4 separate regions of the Homo sapiens genome follow, and regions 1, 3 and 4 are each linked to region 2. Evidence: promoter capture Hi-C in 16 types of primary human blood cells and fetal thymus (Javierre and others, 2016). All regions are on one chromosome and are shown on one strand. The core of a region is centred on a gene start or on the middle of the fragment in contact, and the rest is flanking DNA. Distances in the headings are between cores, read along the strand shown. Region 1 holds the start of GPR171 (G protein-coupled receptor 171). Region 2 holds the start of TSC22D2 (TSC22 domain family member 2). Region 3 holds the start of MED12L (mediator complex subunit 12L). Region 4 overlaps RNF13 (ring finger protein 13).

Evidence for each region. The method cuts DNA at HindIII sites, captures the fragments that hold promoters and counts their contacts. A CHiCAGO score of 5 or more calls a contact.
Region 1: a fragment that was not itself captured here is called in contact with the fragment with the promoter of TSC22D2 in region 2 in 2 of 17 cell types (activated CD4 T cells and naive CD4 T cells); the score reaches 6.0 in activated CD4 T cells.
Region 3: the fragment with the promoter of MED12L here is called in contact with the fragment with the promoter of TSC22D2 in region 2 in 1 of 17 cell types (fetal thymus); the score reaches 12.7 in fetal thymus.
Region 4: a contact is called between a fragment that was not itself captured here and the fragment with the promoter of TSC22D2 in region 2, in 1 of 17 cell types (megakaryocytes). The highest score is 5.6, in megakaryocytes.

The regions. Positions count from the first base shown.
Region 1 is chr3:151,199,269-151,205,291 of GRCh38, reverse strand. The region is part of intron 16 of MED12L (mediator complex subunit 12L); the gene reads right to left. GPR171 (G protein-coupled receptor 171) reads left to right here and starts at 2,076. Exons shown (of 3, transcript NM_013308.4): 1 at 2,076-2,188; 2 at 4,295-4,383; 3 at 5,853-6,023. The coding sequence starts at 5,906. The HindIII fragment of the contact is 657 bases long and covers 3,983-4,639 here.
Region 2 is chr3:150,406,550-150,412,422 of GRCh38, reverse strand. It overlaps TSC22D2 (TSC22 domain family member 2), which reads right to left and starts at 4,125. Exons shown (of 3, transcript NM_001303264.2): 1 at 1,115-4,125. The coding sequence starts at 3,072. RefSeq lists enhancers at 1,429-2,308, 3,015-3,064 and silencers at 2,055-2,334, 2,595-2,764, 3,435-4,034. The HindIII fragment of the contact is 3,533 bases long and covers 858-4,390 here.
Region 3 is chr3:151,082,478-151,088,502 of GRCh38, reverse strand. It overlaps MED12L (mediator complex subunit 12L), which reads right to left and starts at 2,839. Exons shown (of 45, transcript NM_001393769.1): 1 at 2,567-2,839; 2 at 1,478-1,705. The coding sequence starts at 1,576. RefSeq lists silencers at 2,087-2,381, 2,818-3,187. The HindIII fragment of the contact is 3,991 bases long and covers 1,032-5,022 here.
Region 4 is chr3:149,879,902-149,885,774 of GRCh38, reverse strand. The region is part of intron 4 of RNF13 (ring finger protein 13); the gene reads right to left. Among named protein-coding and RNA genes, the nearest start is that of RNF13, 70 kb to the right of the region's middle. The HindIII fragment of the contact is 978 bases long and covers 2,892-3,869 here.

The sequences.
Region 1 (6,023 bases), core at 3,062-5,561, 790 kb before region 2:
ACAAAAAGTACTGCCATGACCAAGGTAAGGGAAAAATAACTTCACCTCACTTCTTCCCGCTTGGGTGTGTATTAGTGATGACATGCAACTTCCCGGAACACTAAGTACAGTCACAAACACTTGTCCTCAGTGAAACAGATAGAAAAAAGTGGCTTATAGAAAATCAAATGAAACTAGTATTAAAAAATGAAAACTACATGTATTTCCACTGTGAATAAACTTCCACACAAAGCCAGGTTGCCTAAGCTCATTCTCAGAAGGAGGAATATGATTCATCTATTAAAAGATTAATTCTCACTATTCTAAAAATTAAATAGAACTCTGAGAACAAGGGCACTTCAGTGCTTTCACATTTGGCAATCCAGACACAGAAACTGTGGTCTGGGTAGATTTTTAAGTACAATTGTTTGTACTTTTCAATTGTGTCTACAACCTTAAAGTGAACCGAGGAAGTAAACATATAAAGAGACCTAACTAAAAAAAGCAAAACAGAAACTGTCAAAAATCTTTCATCCCAGTTTTTCTCCATGCCATGGTAAAATCATTCACCACTGTTTGCAGTCAACTCCACTCATCTCTAAATTCTCTCCCTTTCATCTCCTCTACCCTCCAGTGGATGTAAACCCTGATCACTTCTCACTTACTTGTCTGCAAATATATCTTTTCTACAAGTATGTTCTTCAGTGAGTCCTGTACAATGTTGAAGCATACATATCTTAAAAGAAAGATCCTTTCCTAGCACTATGATGATGAAGTTCACAGTGGTTCTTAACATAAAATGTTTGAGAAACATTTGCTTTTTCCCTCCTAGTTTATAATTTATGGTCTTCACTGGCAAAAATAATAATTATATGAATTTGGGAGAATGTCAGAATACCTGAGACGTGACCAATATCATCATAAGCATCTTTACATTTTTTTCAAAAGTCTCCTTAGACTTTCCCTAAATTCTCCCTAGCTAGATACTTCTCATTTCATCTTTTGAGACATTTTTCTTTTTAAAAACTAATACCAAGAGATTAATTTTAGATCCTGGAAAGGTATCTTCTTTTTTCTTATCCAGAAAACTGACCAAGTATTATTAAAAGAAACCAAAGCACCTACCAAGCCAATGAAGCATTAGAAGAAACCAGACCCTAAATAACCAGGCAATGGCTTTGCATTAACACATCAACTTTGAACCAGAAAATTCAGAACTCTTGAAAATATGTTTGTTAGGTCCCCCAGCATGCTAGGCTTCTTTCAAACATTCAGTTAGTTCTGCCACAGACACAATGAACATTTAACCAAACAACTTAAATACACACTGTAGGGTTCCTTTACACACAATCTATTAATTACTAAATACTATTCCAATTCATCAGGCTGTTTGAGTCAAACAGACAAATACTTATTACAAGTCTAATCTCATAAATTGAATATATAATATATTCTTCAATGAAAAATTATAAACTATAAAATAGTATGAATAACATCTAAGTGGAAATACATAAGCATAGAAAAAATTTAAAACTTATGTACCAAAAATATTAACAGTAATTATCTCTCTGCATAATGATGTTCCTTTTTTATTTCTATTTCCAGATTTTTCTATAATGAACATAAAATAAGATAAATAAAATGTATACATTAGCTGACTCTGTAAAACACATCTTTTTGTTTACTTCTTTTTTTAATAATAGGTGTCTCAGCAGGAATAAAAACTGCAACTATTTTTTAAATTTTAACTTTGAAATGCTGTGTTACTATATATACTGAAAAAATATTTGCTTAAACACCTTATATCTTTAATTATTAATCCCCATCAAGGCATGAAGAGTGATATTCTTTGAAATCATTATGACACAAAACATACCTTGGATACTTTAAAAAAAAAAAAAGGCTAGGTACTAAATGAAGATCTTTTCTCTAAAAAATATGACAAATAAATTGCTTAAGAAAGCATACATGAAATTGTATACATTAAAAAAACTTCTTTAGGAGACTTTCATAAAGTTAAACTACTTGCAAACCACAGTTTCATCTACGTCAATATGCAACATTTTAAAACCACACAAAAAGGAAAGGAAATTTTTAGTAAAGCCAGCAGCCTGCAATGGGGTTGCTACTGCTGCGGCTAACCAAACAGCTCATGCTTCTCTGAAGACTTGCAGCAAGGCTTGCTGAGGCTCACAGAAGATAGCCCCAGGTATGTCTTTTTAAACACTTAATATATTCAAATGCTTTTCCGTGGAAAACAAAATTGTGATTTTTCAGTATTTAAGGCTTATAAGTAGAAAAAGCCAAGCTGTATAAAAAAAAAGCATCAATTTTTAAACTCTAAATAGGTCCTAGCTGTGAATGACACTATAATTTTCTTATATCTGATGAACCCATTCATCTGTCTCCAAAAGACAGGATAATTGACACCAGACTGAATACCTGAGCGAGCATAACTATTCAGTAACTCAATCTTATAACTGGGTGGATAGAGGCCATGTTGTAGATCTTCACAACAGGGAACAACAGGCCTTAAGATGACTTTCCTCTACAAACATTACAATAGGTGATTTCAAGAAGATTCCACTGTGATTCCCATAGAAAATCTAATAAGCTTTTATTTTGTTTTTGTTTTGTTTTGTTTTTGAGGAGTCTCGCTTTTTCACCCAGGCTGGAGTGCAGTGGTGCGATCTCAGCTCACTTCAACCTCCACATCCCGGGTTCAAACAATTCTCCTGCCTCAGCCTCCCGAGTAGCTGGGATTACAGGTGCCCGCCACCGCGTTGGCTAATTTTTGTATTTTTAGTAGAGACAGGATTTCACCATGTTGGCCAGGCTGGTCTCGAACTCTTGACCTCAAGTGATCCACCCGCCTCAGCCTCCCAAAGTGCTGGGATTACAGGCGTGAGCCACTGTGCCCAGCCAGTTTATTTATTTTCTAAGCAATGGGCACTCTATCCAAACTACAGAGACAGTTAAAATCTTGTATTGTTGTTGCTGCACTACTTCTGAGTATCTCACATTTTCACTGGTAAGTAACTGTCTGGTAAAATATTTATTAAGCACTTAGTTCTCAAACTTGTGACACAGAACACAGGATGTTATTATACAATATTTTAACCTCTAATTTACATAAGCAAAAATTTTAAATAAACAGATTTGTTTCTCACTGCAATTTAGACAAAAGTTCACAAACACAAATGTGAGAAATGTGAGATGCTCCATGATTCTTGAGAATTACTGAATGATTATTCATTTCAGATAAATTATTCATGTACGGTATATATCGTCAGTTCTAGCTACAGAGAAAATTAATCAAAATAAATTACTCTAATTCTTCTCTTTACCATATACGTCTCATTGATACAACAGACTTATTTTATAGTTGTGCAAGCAATGGAGCACTTAAAGAAACACATTATGTTACCATTATTATGTAATATTTGAAATAGAAGTGCGTAAGCCAAAATCCTAGGGCCTTAGAAAGTAACAATAAGCAAAGATGTGACACTATATCAATGCACACGAATACTAGTTTTTCACATAAAGAAGAAAAGTATGTTCAAAATTCCAAGGTACAAATGGTAACTATCCAAATTCATGGTCGCCAAGGACATCGGTAAAGCCTGGAGTAGCTTTCAGATGTGAGGAGCTTCCTTAAAGCTCTGGAATAAGCAGGATTCAGGAATAGTAAGGATAAATGCAGAGCGCTTAGAAGATGACCAATAAGAACAGATCTTAGTCCTGCCTGAACATGCTGTGAAAGCTTGAGGAACACACCAGTGCCAGCCCTCAATCTCCTCAACTGACTTGGGGATTAGACTACAGGCTATCGATAAAGTTTCCATCCATCCTTAAAATCCTATGACTCCAAAATTTCTATCACATGCAAAAGTATAAAGGCAGGAAGGAACTGTACACAGAATAATAGAGACCCCACCAATCCCAATCTTAATCTGGGATGTAAGTAGAGATGGTAGAGAGAAACTAGGTTATGGAAGCTTTGAGAGCAAAGTTGGTTTAAACTTATTGGATGGGCCTAGGTTTTGTTTTTAAATGTGCGTGTGAGAGAGAGAGAGAGAGAGAGAGTGTGTGCACGTGGTTGTATGCATAGAACAGCAAAATATACGAAAAGCCTAAACTTATATTCTTAGTATTTTGGTAAAAAGTTAAAAATAGTTTATTTCAGCTTTATTACATAAAAATTGTTTAGAACATAGTTCCTGCCCACACAGTAAGCCCTTAGTAAAGACTGGCAGATATAATAATAATCATTATCATTTCTATCATCATCTTACTATTGTTACTGAGGCAGTGTTTTGGAGTGGTTTTGAATGTGATTCTGAGATCAGACTGACTGAGCTGGAATCCTGGCTTTATATCTTACCAGCTACACAACCTTGGGTAAGTAACCCCATTATGCCTCAATTTCCTCATCTGTAAAGCAGGGACAATAACAACACCTAGCTTATGGAAATGATAAGAAGTTAAATAAGTACATGTAAAGTATTTGGCATAGTGCCAGATACAAACCAACTGCTTAATTATTTTCATCGAGTTTGGTAAAGAATGACATTATTCATGGACTCTAACGTGCTAACTCAGGTAGGGAAAGAGAAAGGGCATGTAGCCTTTAAGCAGCACTTGAATTTAGAAAGCTTTGTGTACATCTGCCTTATTCATCTGTTTGCATACATTGTTTCATTACAAATGCACACAAAGGATCATTAATTAATTGGGGAAATTAAAATTTAGAAAGATGTCAGAAGTTTTATTCTCTTATTAAAAGGCACTTACAGAGTAGCTGATCTGGCCTTCAATGTTGGTCACTATAACTTATATTTGCTTCTTTTAAAAAGGTTGTATTATAATATAAAATGTTTCCTTGCTAAAATACAAAAATAATCTTCAGGTCTTTAAAACAAAAGAACACTGTTTAATGTGCAAAAGGGGGACCCACACCAACAGGCAGCACCAGAAAGATTACTAATGTACCCTTAGCTCTAAGCATGTGAGTTTGAATAGACCAGGTCAAAGGGAGCCCTATCAGTTTAACTTGAGCTTACAAACCCGCTCAATGTTCCAGATTTGGGAGGGACATGACAAGACTTCATTGTCATTATCAGTGGTGATCACAGTAGTTCTAAGGGTATGTCTTATGCTTCTGGGCTTTTAACTGCTTCAAAACCCACAATGAAAGAAAAAAAAAGCGACTCAAGTGTTGAAGTCAGATGTTTTGATACTAATATAAATAAATCTTTCTCCAAGGATTTTGTAACCAATGAACATACATCCATGTTCTGGTAGTTGTGGGTTTTTTTGTTTGTTTTTTTGGTTTTTTTCTGTTTGTTTTTGAGACAGACTCTTGCGACCAGGCTGGAGATTTTCCATCAACTCCTTACTTCCCCTGTCAGCCTGGGTTCTCCCAGCCTTAGGAGCCACATGAATCTATGGAAAACAAAAAACTAAAACAAGAAAAAAACCAGAAGGCCTCATTGAAAGCTCTTCATGCTCAACCACAACCCTAGTTTCCTCTCTCTACTTCTCAGAATCTCGGTTCACTTATCTCCTCTGCAAACTAACTTCCAACCCAACTGGTAACAAGAACTACCAGAATGGAAAAACCTGAGGTTGAAAATATCCCTACCAAAAGCAAACCTGCATGGGATTTCCTGAAAGTCACAAAATCAGACAATGGAAAACCCAGGCATCTTCACAATCTAGTATGTTCTCACCAGGCCATATGGTCTGGTAAGTTCACCAATAAAATTCTAAGAACTGGAAAGACAACGGTATTGTGAAGACCAATGTCTTTTAAAGAAAATAGTTGCTAATTTTAATTACTAACCTCCCTTTCCTTGTTTCTTTTACAGAGTCTTAGAAATTTTTTCTTTTCAATAAGCAGTCATCCTTACTTTCCCTCAAGATGACAAACAGTTCGTTCTTCTGCCCAGTTTATAAAGATCTGGAGCCATTCACGTATTTTTTTTATTTAGTTTTCCTTGTTGGAATTATTGGAAGTTGTTTTGCAACCTGGGCTTTTA
Region 2 (5,873 bases), core at 2,876-5,375:
ATTCTTCCACATACTAATTATTCTGGAAATCCATAATATTAGTTTGTATCTTTTAAAAACACCTAAAATTAGCCTCTCGCTAAACAAAAACCCCAGCAAAGAAATGTCTAACTGTGAAATTCCTGAAACTTTTTCTATAATTTTTAAATATAATTTTAAAACATTGCAACAAGTCAGCTTTTAAAATTTTGCAATATGTATGTCAAATTTACATGTGACATCTCCTCAAAACCACAAAAATCCTCACTAAACCATAACCAAACATCAGCTGTTGTGGCACTGGTGTAGCAATACACTAATTCTTATTTAGGCCATTAAAAAAAGCATCCCTAAATACAGGGAGCCAATTATTAACATTTACACTTTTATTATAAAATTACTCTTAATTTCAAGAACTATAGCTTTCACTACAGTTAAAGGATCGATCTCAACCTCCCTTTCCTATAATAAATAGACTGATGGAAAGTAAGAATATCTTTCCAGTACATTTTTTGCTTAACAACAAAAAAATAGTATCTTAGAGAAGTCCCTGGGAAGACTCGTGACCTTGTACCTCCTTTAATCAAAAGGCTGAACTAAGTATGATCTTCAAAGCCGGATTTGACATTTCACCATTATGTCTCCAGCCTTTCCAGATACACTGGAGAAGATTCCTTACATAGATTTTTTTTTTCACTAGAGGACCTTCTGGTTTTCCAGAAAGGAAAACTTGTAGTATTATTATGTCTCAGCCTCAAAACTCACACTGACAAATCTCTCTGCCTTACGTGTTCAAGTGTGATTGATATGTAAGAAAAGGACAATTCTATGGGAGCATAACACACTAGCTACCACCATTAAATGGTAAGCATTAAGCTTAAATTCACCTTTTTTTGAGTAAACAATGTTGCATCCCTACCCATTTTAGTGCTTTTAAACAACGGTGACAAGACCAATTCGCTCATTACACCCTTTGACATCAGCATCAGCAATCTAAATCAATTTTACCAAAAACTAAATTTTGTATTTAAAAATGCTAAGGGCCTCCGTTGACAACAATCTCCCAAAGTTGCATCCTAAGCTACAATGTTGGCCAAGCATTTCTATCAAATATTTAAAATAGAGATTTCCATACCTGTCTTCATCACCATCAACAGGAATAGCTATGCTGAATACAGAGGTGGCCAGACTGTTCATAGGTGTTAACTGAAGGGGGTTTGCCAGGGAATCTGCAACAGGCGGCTTCACAACAGGCTTATTTTCAGCAATGAGAGAAAGTGGTGGTTGAGGTAGGGGTTCTGATTTTCTTCTAGTATCGTCGACTTGCCCGACTAAAGGCTGGGTCTGAGTTTGAAACTGGCTTAGGTCAGACTGTGGTAGACTTGTTGGTGCGCTGTGTGTGCCTGGCGCTAAGGGCAGCCCAACATGCTGGATTATGCTGCTGCTCCTGCTGACTGGCGTATGGCTGCTCAGCTGTTGCGACTGGGCCAGAGGCGCGGGTACATTTGGCATAGTAACAGAAGTGGTAGACACACTAGGCACGCTTGGAGCGGGCACGGCTGCAGGCACGTTTGGAACTCCGGGCACCACGGCGTGAGGGCCACCAGGTACGGCTGACAGCGGACCACTGCCACCCATCTGCGGCGGAGGCACGGACTGGGGCTGCCCAGCCCCGGCAGGACCGAGGCACGGCTGCACCACGCCTCCCACAGTAGCCGGGGGCACTCCAGTCGGCTGACAAGGCGCGACCTGCCCGCCTTGCGCTGGTCCCGTCCGGGGGGCCATGGCTTCGCTGGGCTGGGAAGACGCGCCCATGAGCTGCGCGCCCACCGAGGAAGCATTCTGGCCGGTGCCCACGGGAAGGGTGGCCGCCGTGGCGGGGCTCGCTGCGGCGCCGGTGGACGAGGGCTGCGCGGGGCTTGGCGGCTGCAGGCCGGCCACGTGCTGCTGCAGGTACTCACTCTGGCCGGAGGGCTGGACGGGCAGCAAATGTCCGGGCGGTATCTGAGGCTGAGGATACGCGAACTGCTGGGGCTGCTGCGCCGCGGGGGCGCCCACTGCAGGGCCCGGCTGCGGAGGCAGGGACATAGCCGGCTGCGCCAGGGTTACATTCGTCGGCGGCAGAGTCTGTCCCCCGGGCCCCGCTCCCTGGGGCTGGCTGGGCTGCGCGGCTGCCATCATTGGCTGCGGCCCGGTCGCGGCTCCCGGGAACGGCGGCAGCGGAGCCGAGCTTTGAGCCACAGCCCCACCTACGGGTGGCGGCGGCGGCTGTGGCTGCCCAACGCTAAAACTCTGCGGCTGGGCCGGAGTGGGCTGGCTCATTTTCTCCGACGGGGGTAGCTGTGACACAGCAGTCAAGGAGCTGTCAGTTCCCGACTCGGGCCCGTGCGCCCCCTGCATGGAGGCCACTACTACCACCACCGACCCTCCGGTGGCGCCCAGGCCGCTGTCCCGCTCCGCAGTCTGGTCAAAAGTACTGCTGTGTCTAATGCAATCCCCGGATCTAGTCAGGACGCTGCTGTCTGAATCCCTCTCATAGTATTCCATACACGTCCATCGGCCGCGTCTATAGGGCTCTCCGCTCCCGTGGTCCAGCTTGATCACGCGAAAACGGGAACTACATGTGGTGGGAGGCTGAGATGGGGCTGCAGTCACTGGCCCGGCGGATGAGCCCGCGAGCTGGGGGCCGCCGGGTGCTCCGGGGGCGGGGGCCGAAGTGGCAGCCGCCGCCAGGGTACTGGCGAGCGCCCCAGACACGCTCCGGGCCGAAACGACTCCTCCTCCGTTGGCGGGAGCAGCAGCCGCCGCTGCCAGCTGCCCATCTAGGAGGAGGTTTGGGGAGACGGTCCCGGGAGTCTCCGCATCCCCAACATTGTTAAGCGTCTCTTCGGAAGAGCTGCGCTCGCAGACCTCCTCAGGGCCATAATCCGTGGCCCGAGAGACGTCGAAAATCTCGGAGGAGACGTCCTCTGTGCGTGACTCGTCCGGGTCGTCCAAGCTCTCGGTGTCCTCGGTGATGCTAGTGGCCACCTGGGCCGTGGTGACACTGGTGATCTGGAAGCAGCTCTTCTTCTTGGCCGGCATCTTGGACATGGTGAAGAAGGCTGGAGGGCAGAGAGGCACGCCGGCTCCTCTGGGTCCTGTCGGAAACCGGGGAGGGCAGAGCACGGGCCCCCAAAGACAAAGTCCGAGTCTGCGCTGGGGTCTGAGGCCCGCCGCTGTTAAGAGTCACGGGCTGATCCAGGCGCTGGCCGCCCGGTGAGACATCCTCCTCCTCGTTTCCTTCTCTGTGTCGGTCTCTTCGGCTCTGCCCCCGTCTCAGTCCCGCGGCGGCTCCTCCTTCCTTTTTAGCTCTCGCAGCCGCGGCGCCTCAATTCAATTCCCTCAGAGGCGGCGAGAGCGCGAACCCAGGGGCGGGCCGGCTGCTTCCTCTCTCGTCTCCGGGCAGCCGTGGTCAGTCCAGCTCGGCGCTCGGCGCGGTCAGCAGGCCTTGGCTGGGGGTGGGAGTGGGAGGGCGAAGAGGAGGAGGAGGAGGCGGTGGCGGCGGCGTGAGGGGCGGTGCTGCCCCGCTCGGGCTCCTCAGGCCGGTGCCGGCGTCAGCGCTGGGCTCTCTGACTGAGGGAAGGAGCGGCGAGTCCGGAGTCGGAGATGCCTAATTCAGCCGGGAGCCGCGGGCCGGAGCTGGCTGAAGGTCCGCGGGCGGGCGGTGGGGCTGTGGCGCGGGCAGGCGGCCCTCCCTCCCCGGCTCTAGCCGGAGCTCAGCCCCAGGGACATGTCGACTGCCTCAGGCGGAAACCCGCTCTGGGGGAGGGGAAAGCCGGCTCGGTCCTCCCCTTACAGGGGGAACCACCCCTGCGGGCGGGCGGCGACGGCGGTCTCGGCCTCCCCTCGCGGCTTCTCTCAGAGAGGGGCGGCGGCGGCAGACCGCTGGCACGGGACCGGAGGCGCCCCGGCTGTGTGAGGTAGCGGTGGTGGCTTCTCCGGCTCCTCCTCGGTGCGCCCAATTCCTAAACCCCGAAGAAACTGAAATTCAAACTGCTGAAGCGGCGGCTGCAGCTCCCTCCGCTGGGCCAAGATGGGGCTGAAATGGCCGCGCCAGGGATGCTGGGAGGAGCAGCAGCCCCGCTGCCGCCGCCGCTGCCGACTAAAATGCCGCCGCTGCCGCAGCCACCGCCAGCGCCGCAGCCGCCGCCGTTCCGTGACGCACCGGCGTCGTGACGTCACCGCTCCGCCCCCTCCGGTTTCCTGCAGTTTCGCGTGGAACCTGGGGTGGGGGGCAATGGGCGGGGCTAAAGGTTAAAAAAGGGAGCGGTTTCTTTATTTAAAATTTTTAAAATTTAAATTTTGTGTTGTAGGTTCTTTAAGCATTGACGAGCTAAAGACCATTTTAAATTCTAAGCCTAGGGAAGCTTACAATGGAACTAATCAGATGTTTTTATGTCGGTTTGTTCCGAGACAGTGGAAGACTGGAGGTCATGTGCTTGTGTCTAATGTTTAGCAAAATCTTAGTGAAACGAGGGCGATAGGAATGGGGGCTGGGGAAGACTTAGATGGGATAAAAAGAGGTGCGGCTGGAAGAACTAAATCACTTTAAAACTTCTGAAAATAAATGTTGACCATTGTAGTCAGAGGAGTAAAATGTTCAGAGAAATGGGGATGATTAAACAAGAACGGCAAGCCAGATTGAGTCAGAAAATTATCTTCCTGCCAGAAATTCTGTCTCCCACAACGGCATCAGGGGGTGGTTACTTGCCCAGGGTGTAGTCAGTTTTTAAAAAGCTTAAGGGTTACCAACATATTCCTAAATTTCCTGAATTTGCTGTGATTCCAGGATTCATTTAAACTCTTGAGACTGTTTTACTTTCGGCACGAAATCAGCTCATGGGCTTTATAAATGTAGAACCTACTGCATTATAGTTCTTCTTTTTGTTTATTCTAAAACTGTTAGTAGCAGCCAGCGTATTATATGATTTGGATTGGGCCATGAACAACCGTAACGAGTGATAAAGCACCCTTTCCTGTTCCAATGCAAAGAACAACTATGAAAAGAAAGTACTGGCAAATTTATCATCTTGTAGTTAGTTCCTGGCCAAAGAAAATGGTAAGGCCATTCTTTTAAGCAGTTAAAAAAAAATGGGGATGGGCTCTTAAACTTTGGCATGCTAAGGCCATTCTTTTAAGCAGTTTAAAAAAATGGGGATGGGCTCCTAAACTTTGACATACTAAAGCAGTCGTCATTTAGGTAAAATCTAAGTCTTAATGGAAATCGTGATTTCATATCTACTGCAGCGTTAGCAATCACATAATGATAACTTAAATCAGTAAATCGTTGAACTCGGTTCTCTAATCTTTGAAGAATAGAAATACTTTTTATCCCAAAAGATGTTTTGAGAATTAAATTTGCAGAGAATTTTTTAGGTCTTTAGTTGTAATTTATAGAGCTAGGTCTTTTAACTTTAGTGGAAACCATGCCCTCCAAACCCAAGTGACTGGAGTCAGAATGTGAAATAAGACGACATAAAATCCCTATTTCTTAAGGGGCTGGGCGAAAGTAATGGAACAAAATGTAACGTTATGCTATTGTGGCAGAGATAGCTAATGGAATGTTTCATTTCTAAGTCTGTAATTTCAGTAATTGTTAGAGGCAGTTTTCCATCAATAAGTTAGATCAAATGGTTAAACCCAATATGAATTTATAAAAGCTTAATTTAATTTTGGATTGATTTACCAGATGTTTAAGGTGGTTATAATGGGTAGTGTTGATGGTGGTGCTTTTGGAAAAATGAGTATTATATGCCTGCTCATCCCTTTACATTATCTTATCATATAAACTTCTTGATTACTCGTTATGATACTCTTAAATCGTACATTTAGAGGAAAAATCTTAAAGTAAT
Region 3 (6,025 bases), core at 1,590-4,089, 680 kb before region 2:
TTCAACCAACAAAATATCCCTGTCCCTATCAAAACTTTAAGAATTTCCTCCCAATAATTTTTAAGCTATTAACTGTACACTTGATCCTCAGCTTCTCTATTATTTCCAGTCCTTAACCATTAACTTCATTCTAAGTTGGGGTAGCAGGGTGGGGTAACGGGTAGGAAAAAAAATCTGGGAAATCTTCTCAAACCTCTACCATCCTGTAAAGCTGGTGCTGGAAACCACCTGTAAAACCTTCCCAGCTTTCATCTGCGTGACTCCACTGATGCTAGAGCATATTTAGTGTGCTAAACCTCTAAAAGGAGTTGCTGTTCCTTACTTCTCAGACACTTTATAAGCAAGACAGTTTAGCCAGAACAAGCACTTACTCTCCTAATGAAAGATACACTTATCAAAAGGAAAGTCTTAAGGACCCCTCCTTGCCTGGTTTACAAGGCCCTTTCTGTGCTATCAGTGGGCCCACAAACTTTTAATGGAGGGTTTTTAGATTCTCAGAAAGGTAAGTTTTGAAATATGGTCAGTTCGTGTTTAGCTGAACAGAAGATGGGTGGACTGCAGCTGGCAAACTCAGAAAGCACTGCTGGGTAGCAGGTGATCAAAAAAAAAACAAAAAAAAGGCAAGTCCCTGGGCAAATGGTGTAGCCAAAGGTGATCATTATAACTAGAGACTTGTTACATAATTACTTGTTAACTCCTGACAAACAGATACACAGCTACAAAATGCCATGGTTACCCTAGCCATTGAAGCTAATGTAGCTGGTGCAAGAGTCAAGGTGTCTCCAATTAATCTCATTCAAAGAAATAAGCAATCCTGGGAACTATTCCCTCCCAAGGTAACTCGCCTGCTTTTACGTATACAAAACAGCCTCTAGCAATTAAGCCCATTGCCTCTAGAGACGAAAATCAGTGTTTCTCCTTAATTTTAATTTTTAAAGGGCAGAAGGGTTACAGAGGTATATTCAGAGAGCTAAATATTTATCACTTCGATAAAAACGACTTCCATTCCAAACTGGAAAATTTGAAAAGCTTCCCCCTCACCTTCGTCCCTGGCCAGCAAAAGCAAAACGCAAGACCTCAGTGTAGGATGCACTGCATTCCAACATTTTTCAAAAAGTTTACGACGATTTACCGAAGCGGCAAGAAGAAAAATAAAGCAGGCAGAAACGGGTGAGAGCGAGCAAGGTTTCGGCAGGGAAGAAGCCCGAGAAGCGCCCGGCGGCGCCGTGCAAGGCCCGGCAACGGGAAAGCGACCGGCACATGGAAAGCGAGCGCCCCAGTGGAGCGCGGGGACTGACAGCCGCTCGGTCTCCGCCGCCGGGGGGTCGCCCAGCACCCCCAGCCTGGCCCCCGCCTCTAATCCCCCTCCCCGACCTCTTCCACCGCAGCGCCGGCGATGCCCGCTGGGCCAACTTGGCCCCGGGTCAGTGCTGCAGAGCGCGGCCCCGGTTGCCGGGGAGGCCGCCGGCGCCCTTACCTCCTTCTGCTTGGGGTCCTGTGGGTAGACGTCGGGCGGCCCGAGCCGGGGGCGCTTCAGCGGTCTCTGCTCATAGCTGAGAAGCCCGAAGGCGGCCATGATCTCTCATGTTAACCGGCGAAATGAATGAGAGTTGGAGCTGGAGCAGCCGCCTCTGAGCACCAGGGAGCAGCACTTTGCAGACAGACTCCCTCTCTCCCCCTCCTCGCTCGCTCGCTCGCTGTGGCGCTGCAGGCAGGAGGAATAAAGCAGGTTGGATGCTGCCGCTGCCCGGCAGCAGACACGCACTGATGGGGACAGCCTTCGGCGGGTACTCGGCTGCGCTCGAGCCCCGGGACGCACCGCTCCGGTGGCGGCGGCGGAGGGACTAGAGGTCGGCCAGGGTCCTCCGCGGCGCCTGCCTCCTCTGCTCCCCCCTACCTTGTCTCCAGGGGGAGGAGCAGCTGATGGGAACGTGTGACTTTTTTCACCAATGGACCCAAACCCACCCCAGCTGGGCGCAGGATGGGGGTGGGGGTGGGGCACTGGAAAAAAAAAAAAAAAAACTTTTCTTGGCGCCTAGGCTGGTGGCTGAAGTGCTCGCCCAAGGCGAGGGTGGCCCTCCCCTCCCGGGAAGAAGCTGTGGAGCGGACCGCCCCCGCCTCTCTTCCCCGGCAGGGACCCTTCCCCCGCCGCCACGCGCCCCGCAGACCCCGCCACCTGGACACGGACCGGGCCAGTGCAGGCAGAGGCAGGTCTGGAGGGGGCGCGAGACGCAGGGATGCGGCCGGTGGGAAGCGGCCGGTGCCTCCTAGACGCCCGCCAGGTTCCAGTGGCGCATCCGCAGCTACGGTCCCCTCGGCGGCTCCGGGCAGGCGCCGAGGCGCGCTGCTGGCGGTCGCGGCGGCTGGAGGGGGCCGTGCTCACGGTGGCGTGGGGCCGACTTAACCCTTTACAGTCCCTCCAGGGGCTGGGGAAGGGGGTGAGGAGCGATGGCTGTGAGCGCCGACGGGGGCAGCCAGCCCGCAGGCGTCTCGGGCTCCTCCAGCCCGCCGCCTCCCCACGGCCCCAGCTCCTCTTCCCTTCCGCCCCCAACCCCCAACACTTTACCTGTTGGTCCGCGGCTAGCGGGCTGGGGCTGGCGGCGGCGGGGTCACTCCGGCCGCCGCAGCCTCCATCATTCGGGTTGGGATGGGGGACTTGGATTTGATTTTATTTGTGCGGTATCTGCCTCGCCCGGACGAGCTCCGGGAACGCCGCGAAGTTTGCCACTGTCTGGGGGCGGCGAGCGACGCCGGCTCGCCGCCGGCGTTCTCGCCCCCACGGCCCGGGAGCGCGAGCTTCCGAGTTGGCGGACGGCGGCGCGGCGTCCGCACTGAGCATGCCCAGCTCGGCGGCCGGACCGCGGAGGAGTTGGCTGAGAGCGCGGTGAGCGCGCTCCAATCCGCCTCTCCGGGTTTTCGCAGCCGCAGAGCGCGCAGCCCGCGGGCCCCGGCGCCGAGGCTGGCCCTGGGGTGAACCTGGGCGAGGGAGGGAGCGCCCTCTGGAGCCCTGCTCCAAGCCCCCCGCTGCACCCTCCGCCTCGACCTCCCCAGAGGTCGCGGTCCCCGTGGCCTGGGCCGAAAACCTCACCTGCGCCGGGAGCGTGGAAGGGGCGGGGGGGGTGATCCTCCAGGGCAGACCTTGGTCATCCAACCCGCCCTCGCTCCTCGCTTCGGGGCGCGGGCACCAAGATGCTGGGCCACCTGGCGCGAGCTCTGCGAGACCGGAGCCGCGGAGGCGGGCTCGGCCTGTCCTGAGGGACCCCGCGGGAGGCGTGCCCGGGAGAATGCGCCCGCACTTGGCCAAGAATGATGGCTGCCATTTATGGAGCCTTCGCTACGTGCCAGGATCTTGATAGTCAGAATCTCTGGTCCTTACAACCTTCCACGGTCTTACTGTACCCTTTTTATGGATGGAGAAATTGAGCCAGCTCAGAGAGGACCACTCACTTGCCGAAAGCCACGAAACGAGTCGGAATTTGAACCCACGACTGATTCTAAGTTTCTGACCTGTTTTCCCTGACTTGGACTTGGAGGGACTGGGTTCCTAACCTGTCCTTGCCTGATGGACTCACGTTCTCCACGGCTTGAGGCATTCTCGGCCTTCCCTCTCTGTAAGGTGGTAAAGGCAGATTCTAACCGGAAGCCTTTGATACATAGTAGGTGCTCTGGAAATGCTGGTTGAATCTGAACATCAACTTTGATGTTCGTTGACATTTAAGCAAAGGGGGAAGAAGGAGATAAATAAAGTGAAGGTAATGTGGTAGAGGCTAGTTCCTCACTCCTGATCCTGACCTGTGAGCACCTCCAAACCCAGTTTGAGGCTGAGTCAGGTGTTTAGCTTTTGGCTTCCTTAATCTGAACAATTACTTCTAGAGAGCATTTACCTAACTTCACTGGAGGGCATTTCCTGACCACCTTCCCCATCTTGCCCCAGGGTCTTCTCTTCCACTAATATCCTGGGATTAATTTCATGGCTGGACTTGCCCTTGTGATACAGGCATCTATCAAATGTAGCTCCCTTGTTTGAAAGAAAGGACAGTTTTTTGTTGTTGTTGTTTTCTTTGTTTGGTTGGTTGGTTGTTTTTTGAGACAGAGCCTCGCTCTGTCGCCCAGGCTGGAGTGCAGTGGCGAGATCTCGGCTCACTGCAAGCTCCGCCTCCTGGGTTCACGCCATTCTCCTGCCTCAGCCTCCCGCGTAGCTGGGGCTACAGGCGCCCGCCACCACGCCCGGCTAATTTTTTTTGTATTTCTTTTTTTTAGTAGAGACGGGGTTTCACAGTGTTAGCTAGGATGGTCTCGATCTCCTGACCTCGCAATCCGCCCACCTCGGCCTCCCAAAGTGCTGGGATTACAGGCGTGAGCCACCGCGCCCGGCCGAAAGGGTTTTTTTTATTATCTAACTTTATTAGGGAAATTATTAAACATACAAAAAGCTGAAGAAATCATATAAGGAGCCCTCAAATATTCATCTCTCAGCTATAAAAATTAAAGTTACTATTTTTGTTTCATCTTTCTCCCCCATTCCCAACTCACTGACATACACTAGTAAGGACAGTTTTACTCATTGTTGCAACTCAGAAACACTGTATGGGACCTGACACATGGTGAGCATTCAAAAATGTTGGCTTATGGAATGGATGATAGGTAGGCGATGTGTGGATGGACTGATGATTGCATCATTAGTGGTACTTTGGGAATAACAGCCTGCGCTGCTACTGAATCAAACACCCCTAGTTTGGGGGAGAAATGTAATCTCAGTTCTTCCCTTGGGATGCCTAAGCAAGCGCCTCCAACTGAAACACTTTGAAGCACTTAAAATCTTATCTGCCCATAAGAATTTTATCTTAAAATCAAAATGTGTCAGTAGTGTGCCCCTGGTGTTTGGGAAGAAGGGAAAATAATAGCCCTCTCCCTGTTGTTGTCCCTTCTTAACTCCCTCTCCTGAAACAGTCTGGCATGAATTCCTTGACCCTCTCAACACAAAATAAATAAATATTGAAAACTTTAATATGCTTAGAAGCTTCCCCTAGGAATCATTATTTTACTGCATGGATTTCCCATGGGCATTTGGCTCCTTACCCTGGGAAATCTTTGTAATCTACCCCCTACCTAGCAATTCAGCTTTTTCTCCTTAACCTCTTGCCCTAGTTAGCTTCCTTTCCTAATATGGAATTCCCAGGCTCTTCATCTTCAAATACTCACCTCTACAGTCCTCAGAGTACGGATTCCTGTACAAAGCCCCTTCAAATTCCCCTGGCAAAAGGTGATCTTTTGGCTTTTTAGTGCCCTTAGCACTTAATTTTTATTATCTTAACACTTATTTATTGGCATGCATTTGAATGTGTCACACAGAATAGTCTTGTTGCCTCATTCTCACCTTTTCCTCCTGGTCCCCTTCTTCCATTCCAGGTCTTTAAGCAGACTAAGATCAGCTCATCATGATGGGCTTAACCTGTAACCCACTGTGTTCTATACAGTGCTTGAATTTCCCACGTGGTGCTGGTTAATATAGCAGGCAAACATTCTCGTTGAATAATGTGGGTTCTAGCTGATACTGTTCCTAAGGGGTATTTTATCTTTACCTAGCTAATGATTCCCTGGGACCAGGAAAAATTTGCATGGAACAGAAATTAGAGAAGACCAGAGGCTCCCCAAATAGGTCCCAGCCTTGAACCTCAGCCTAGCAAGAAGGGATGAGTTCAGGTTCCTAAGGAAGTTTTGTATAGCTATCCAGGGAAATGGGGTTGAAATGTGGCTGGAGAAAGGTGAATGAATTACAAACCATTTTAAGCATATGGTGCTATATCCTCCAAGTATAAAGCTGAGTCTTCACTGCTGCTTTTGAGGGTTACCAGGTATTTAAAAGTTGACCCTTTTTCTTGGGTCACATTCAAGGGTTTCTCAAAGATTCCCTAACTGCTTATGTTCCCTCTGAAAGCCCTGATTTTCAGCATTCTGCAAGGAGTCCCTCACAGTTGGTATCCATTTGTGCTTTTGGGCAAATCCCTTCAATATAGCTCATGGC
Region 4 (5,873 bases), core at 2,131-4,630, 530 kb after region 2:
CACAGGCAACCAAAGCAAAAGGGACAAATGGACTCCTATCAAGATAAAAGCCTTCCACGCAGCAAAGGAAACAATCAACAAAGTAAAGAGACAACCTACAGATTAGGAGAAAATATCTGCAAACTACCCATCTGAAAAGGAATCAATAACCAGAATATATAAGGAGTTCAAACAATGCTATAGGAAAAAAGTCTGATAATCCAATTAATAAATGGGCAAAAGATTTGAATAGACATTTCTCAAAAGAAGACATACAAATGGGAAATAGGCAAATAAAAATGTGCTCAACATCACTGATCATCAGATAAATGCAAGTCAAAACTACAATGAGATATCATCTCACCCCAGTTGAAATGCTTTTATCCAAAAAAAACAGGCAACAAGAAATGCTGGAGAGTATGTGGAGAAAAGGGAACCCTGTACACTGTTGGTAGGAATGTAAATTAGCACAATCACTAGGGAGAACGGCTTGGAGATTCCTCAAAAAAACTAAAAATAGAGCTGCCATATGATCCAGCAACCTCAGTGCTGGGTATATTCCCCAAAGAAAGAAAATCACTATATGAAAGAGATACCCAAGCTCCCATGTTTGTTGCAGCACTGTTCACAATAGCCAAGACTTGGAAACAACCTAAGTGTCCATCCACAGGTGAATGAATAAAGAAAATGTGGTACTTAGACACAATGGAGTACTATTCAGCCATTAGAAAAAATGAGATCCTGTCATTTGCAACATGAATGAAACTGAAAGCCACTATGTTAAGTGAAATGAGCCAGGCACAGAAAGACAAACATCACATGTTTTCACTTATTTGTGGGATCTAAAAATCAAAACAATTGAACTCATGGAGATAAGAGAGTAGTGTAGTGGGGGGAGATGGGGATGGTTAATGGGTACAAAAAAAAAACCACACACACACACACAGAATAAATAAGACCTAGTACTTGATAGCACAACAGGGTTACTATAGTTAATAATTTAATTGTACATTCTAAAGGAACTAAAAAGTAAAACTGAATTGTATGTAACACAAAGGATAAATGCTCGAGGTCATAGATACTCCATTTTCTATGATGTGATTATTATACATTACATGTTTGTATCAAAAAATGTCATGTATCCTATAAATACATACACCTACTATGTACCCACAAAAATTTTAAATAAAAAACTAAAAAAAAATGTAGATGGGTTCCCTTTAGGTCTTTGGCTAAATATAAGAATGGCATATGCATGCATACAGTGAGACCTTATAAGCCTGGACAAACAAGCTCACTAGGGAAAAAAAAACAATTACTGGAAAAAAGATTAACAATTTCCAGAATTCAGACAGGATCAGGAAGAGTTCAAGCTCTGACCAGCCAGAGAGGGGAGACTTCCTTGAATACTAGATCATTCAGAGGACACCCTAGAAGGGTTATACCTTATTAGTACAGCTAAAATAGTAGTGCTACAGTAAAGGCAACTCTTCATCAACTTAACAAACTTTAAAAACAAGCCTGAAAATAACCAAGCTCATCTGCAAGTAACTTACTGCCAGCCACAACAAAATTAAAAGGTCTTTAAAGACCAAGACATATGACAATACAACACTATGTCCAACATCTAATCAAAAGTTACTAGACATGCACTATTCACAACAAAGATACGGAATTGACCCAAATGCCCATCAATCATAGACTAGATAAAGCAAATGTGGTACATATACACCATGGAATACTATGCAGCCATAAAAAGGAACGAGATCATGTCCTTCTCAGGGACATGAATGGAGCTGGATGCCGTTATCCTTGGCAAACTAACGCAGAAACAGAAAACCAAACACCACGTGTTCTCACTTATAAGTGGGAGCTAAACAATGAGAACACATGGACACAGGGTGGAGAACATACACTGGTACTTCTCAGGGAGGGTCGGGGGAGAGAGAGCATCAGAAGAATAGCTAATGGATGCTGGGCTTAATTCTTGGGTGATGGGTTGATCCGTGCAGCAAACCACCATGGCACACGTTTACCTATGTACCAAACCTGCACATCCTGTACATGTACCCCAGAACTTAAAAAATGAAAGTTGAAAAAAAAAAAGGTAGACACGCCAAGAAGCAAGAAAATGTGACCCATAACCATGAGAAAAACCATTCAACAGAAACAGACCCAGAAATTACATGGATACGGAATTATGAATAGCAGACAAGGATTTTAAAACAGCTATAAATTATAATTTATTATTATAAGAATACATTTACATGTAATATAAAGACATAAAATTATAAATTACGTTCAAGGATTTGAAGGAGAATATAAACATAAGGCTCAGAGAAATGGATGATACATACACACACACATACACACACATTTTAAAGATCCAAGTGAAACTCCTAGATAAAAGAGATACAATATGAAAAGTTCACTAGGTGGGCTTAAAAGATTATAGACATTGTAGAATAAAGGATCAGTAAATGTGAAGACAAAGGAATAGAAATTATTAAACTGAAACACAGAAATGCACAAAGTAGGAAAAAAAGAATCAAGAGCTGTTGTAGATTAAAGGAGACATGACAACTAAGCTGAATATGTTTAGTCTGGGATTCATGATTGGATCCTGAAATGGTTAAAAAGAAAACAACTATAAGAGATATTTTGGACACAATTAGGAAATTTAAACATGTAGTTTATATTATTAGATAATATTTATCAATATTAAATTTCTTAAGTGTGGTAACTACATGTAGGAGAATGCTGCTGTTGTACAGAGAGAGAATGTATAAGACATAAAATATGGGGCTTATTTTAAAACTGTTTAAGAAAAAACACTTGGTAGTTACTAACAATGGATTAACTTCAGAAGTATACCTGTATTTTCATCTTTGTTGTAACATGAACCACAAGCTTTTGTCTTGAGGGCATTATTTTTTAAATATCCAGCTGAGTACTGTGACAACCTGATACATTTTAATCAGGCCAGCTTCACATACTTAACTTTAAATAGATTAATTTTCAACTACCATGGCTCATTAAAAACATGATATAAATATGGACTAATTTCATCATGGTCTCAAATTGAAAATAAAAACAAAATCATCCTGCACTTAGTAAAGGTAAGTGCATAGCACAATACTAGTAAGCAAAATTTGTGAAAATTCATGTTTCAGAGTATTACTTTAAAAATTAACAAAAGATCTGTTTTCATGCTTCTTGGTATAAACATTAATTACTAGAAAACTAAGCCTGTTTTCACCTTGAAAAACAGAGATCTGACAAAATAACATTTAGAGCATTTTAAGTACCAGGCTTTAATGTTCCTTAAGAACAATCTTTTTTGTTTATGTATATCTCAAGCCTAGAAAAATATCTCTCATATAAATAGTTGTTTAAAGTAAACTGCAACTAAGGTAACTGATTATCCAGCCCTATCCAGCAATATATAAGTCAAAAAAATAAAATTTCCTCGTATCTGTTGGTTAGTTCCTTCCTACCCCCTCCCCCACCCACCCTCCACGAAAGCACACAGGAAATTTTACTTTAGTCATTTTGGATAAAAATTTTTGTGATATGTTGCATTTTCCCCACCTTTTCACCAAATGTGACTTGACCTTTTCCAGTTACTCGAGATCATCATGAACATGCTTCAACAGACTATAGTTTTTCTCCTTAATGTTAAGTGTCATATGTTACTTCCTCTCTCTGTGCTTACCACTGGTACTCTACTAATAGTTATTCTGGACTTCCTCCATCTGTATATCCTTCTCTGTGGCAGAGAAAAAAAAAGAACTAAACCCGATAAGAATTCTATTCTTTAAAAAAAATTAAGTGCATAAGAATTCTGAGAAAAACTGCCAGGAAAAGTACATGGTTTTAACGCTGAAGCTTAGCAACATTCATAATGGTGGTACAAAGGCATGTTTCCTTCTCTTCTCTGAGGCTATGTTCTGGGAAAGTTGACCTTTTGCTAAGTGGCATATTACCACTGTACATGTTAAGCTTAGAGGTAAGCTGAATTTATTTATTTCATTAGAAAACATTTTTGGTAGGGCTAGTAAAATCTTGTGTTATACAAAAAGCCATACTTATTTGTTTCAAGTACAGTATACCAAAAAACAGAAGCCAAAACGCTTGGAACTTAAATTATTAAAGATCTTATGTTGGCCGGGTGCAGTAGCTCACACCTGTAATCCCAACACTTTGGAAGGCCGAGGTGGGTGGATCACTTGAGGTCAGGGGTTCGAGGCCAGCCTGGACAACGTGGTGAAACCCCATCTCTACTAAAAATATGAAAATTAGCCAGGCCTGGTGGTGGGTGCCTGTAATATCAGCTACTCAGGAGGCTAGGGCAGGAGAATCATTTGAACCTGGAAGGTGGAGGTTGCAGTGAGCTGCGAGCAAGCCACTGTATTCCAGCCTGGGCAACAGAGCAAGACTCTATCTCAAAAAAAAACAAAGATCTTTTGTTATTTTTTCCAATGGCATCATTTTAAAGTCAATCTATGGCATATGGACAAGCAATTTTAAATACTGGGAGACACAATTTACTACTAAAATTACAAATAAAAAGCAATTTTTGAACTTAGAAGTGCTTAGGCAAAAAGCATACTTCTTAGTGTCCCTGCCAGTTTTCACTGCTACACAGAAAAGATTGGCCTAAATCTGCATTTTTCAAACTATAGGTCATGATCCATTACCAGGCAGTAAAGTCATTTAGTGAACCCAAGTGAATTTTATTTTTTAATAAAAAGAAATTTCATATACCAAGTTATTATCGTATAGGTAGTGTAGGTAAGTACTATTCCATGAAATTTTATTGTCAGACTGTGTGCTGTATACAAACTAGGGAACAAGTAAAAATAAACTTCTTACTGTGGGTGGGTTGCAGTCAAAAAAGTTTGAAACTCACTCATATAGATAGTTTTTAATATTCCATAGGTTGTTGGCAATCAGAAAAAAGATTGATGCCTTTCAACATGATTGTTCCATGTTGCAACAATCATGTTCTGCAACATCCCATCAAAAAATCAAAGTCATTAGCTTATAGGTCTTTGAATGTGGCTATTTCCAGTATTATGAAGCTTAATACTGTAGCTGGAACATGATTAGTACTAAAGATAATAAAATGAATAACATAAAATTAAAATTAATTTAAAAGTTAAATTACATTCGTCTTTTTTTCCCAGTGACATTAAGAAAATCTGAATAACCTTTATGTGTAGTTATGCTTGCTATAAGTTAAAACTTGTAAGTTATGCTTAAGTTAAAACTGCTTTAAAAAAATCTTTACTTTGTAATGAACCACACCAGTTAAAATAAACTATACTAGTTAAAAGCTGCCTAAATATTTGTCAGAATTGCAATTTAAATCTAAAAAAGCTATTCATAAATATTCTCTAGTTACCTATGTATATTAAAGTAGATATTTAAAATAAAGGATCTGATCTAAGTTCATATTTTTTAGACACTGATAGGATTCATATTCCAATCAAATCTTAATGATTTCTCATCCTAACATAGCAGAGGCCCCATTTCAGCCCACCCACCACTGAAAATAAAGGCTTTAGAATAACTTTCTGTGCAACAAGAGGATAACTTTCTGTACTTAAAATCAGCTTACTAGGAATTTCACAAGTAACACAGGAACTTCCATTGCACTTGAAAAGTAACTGTGATGGAGCAATTACAGTAAGAATTTTGATGTTCAGCGCCACCCAGCGACAGATCTCTGAGTATACTCCTCCATTACTGCCTGTTAATTGTTTCTGGTATTGTAGGCACTGTACTAAAAGCTCAGTACACAGAACTGCATAAAACATAAGCTCTACTCCCAAGAATCTGAAATTAGAAAAGACATATCCATGGGTTTTTTAGGTTAGGATCAGGCTAGA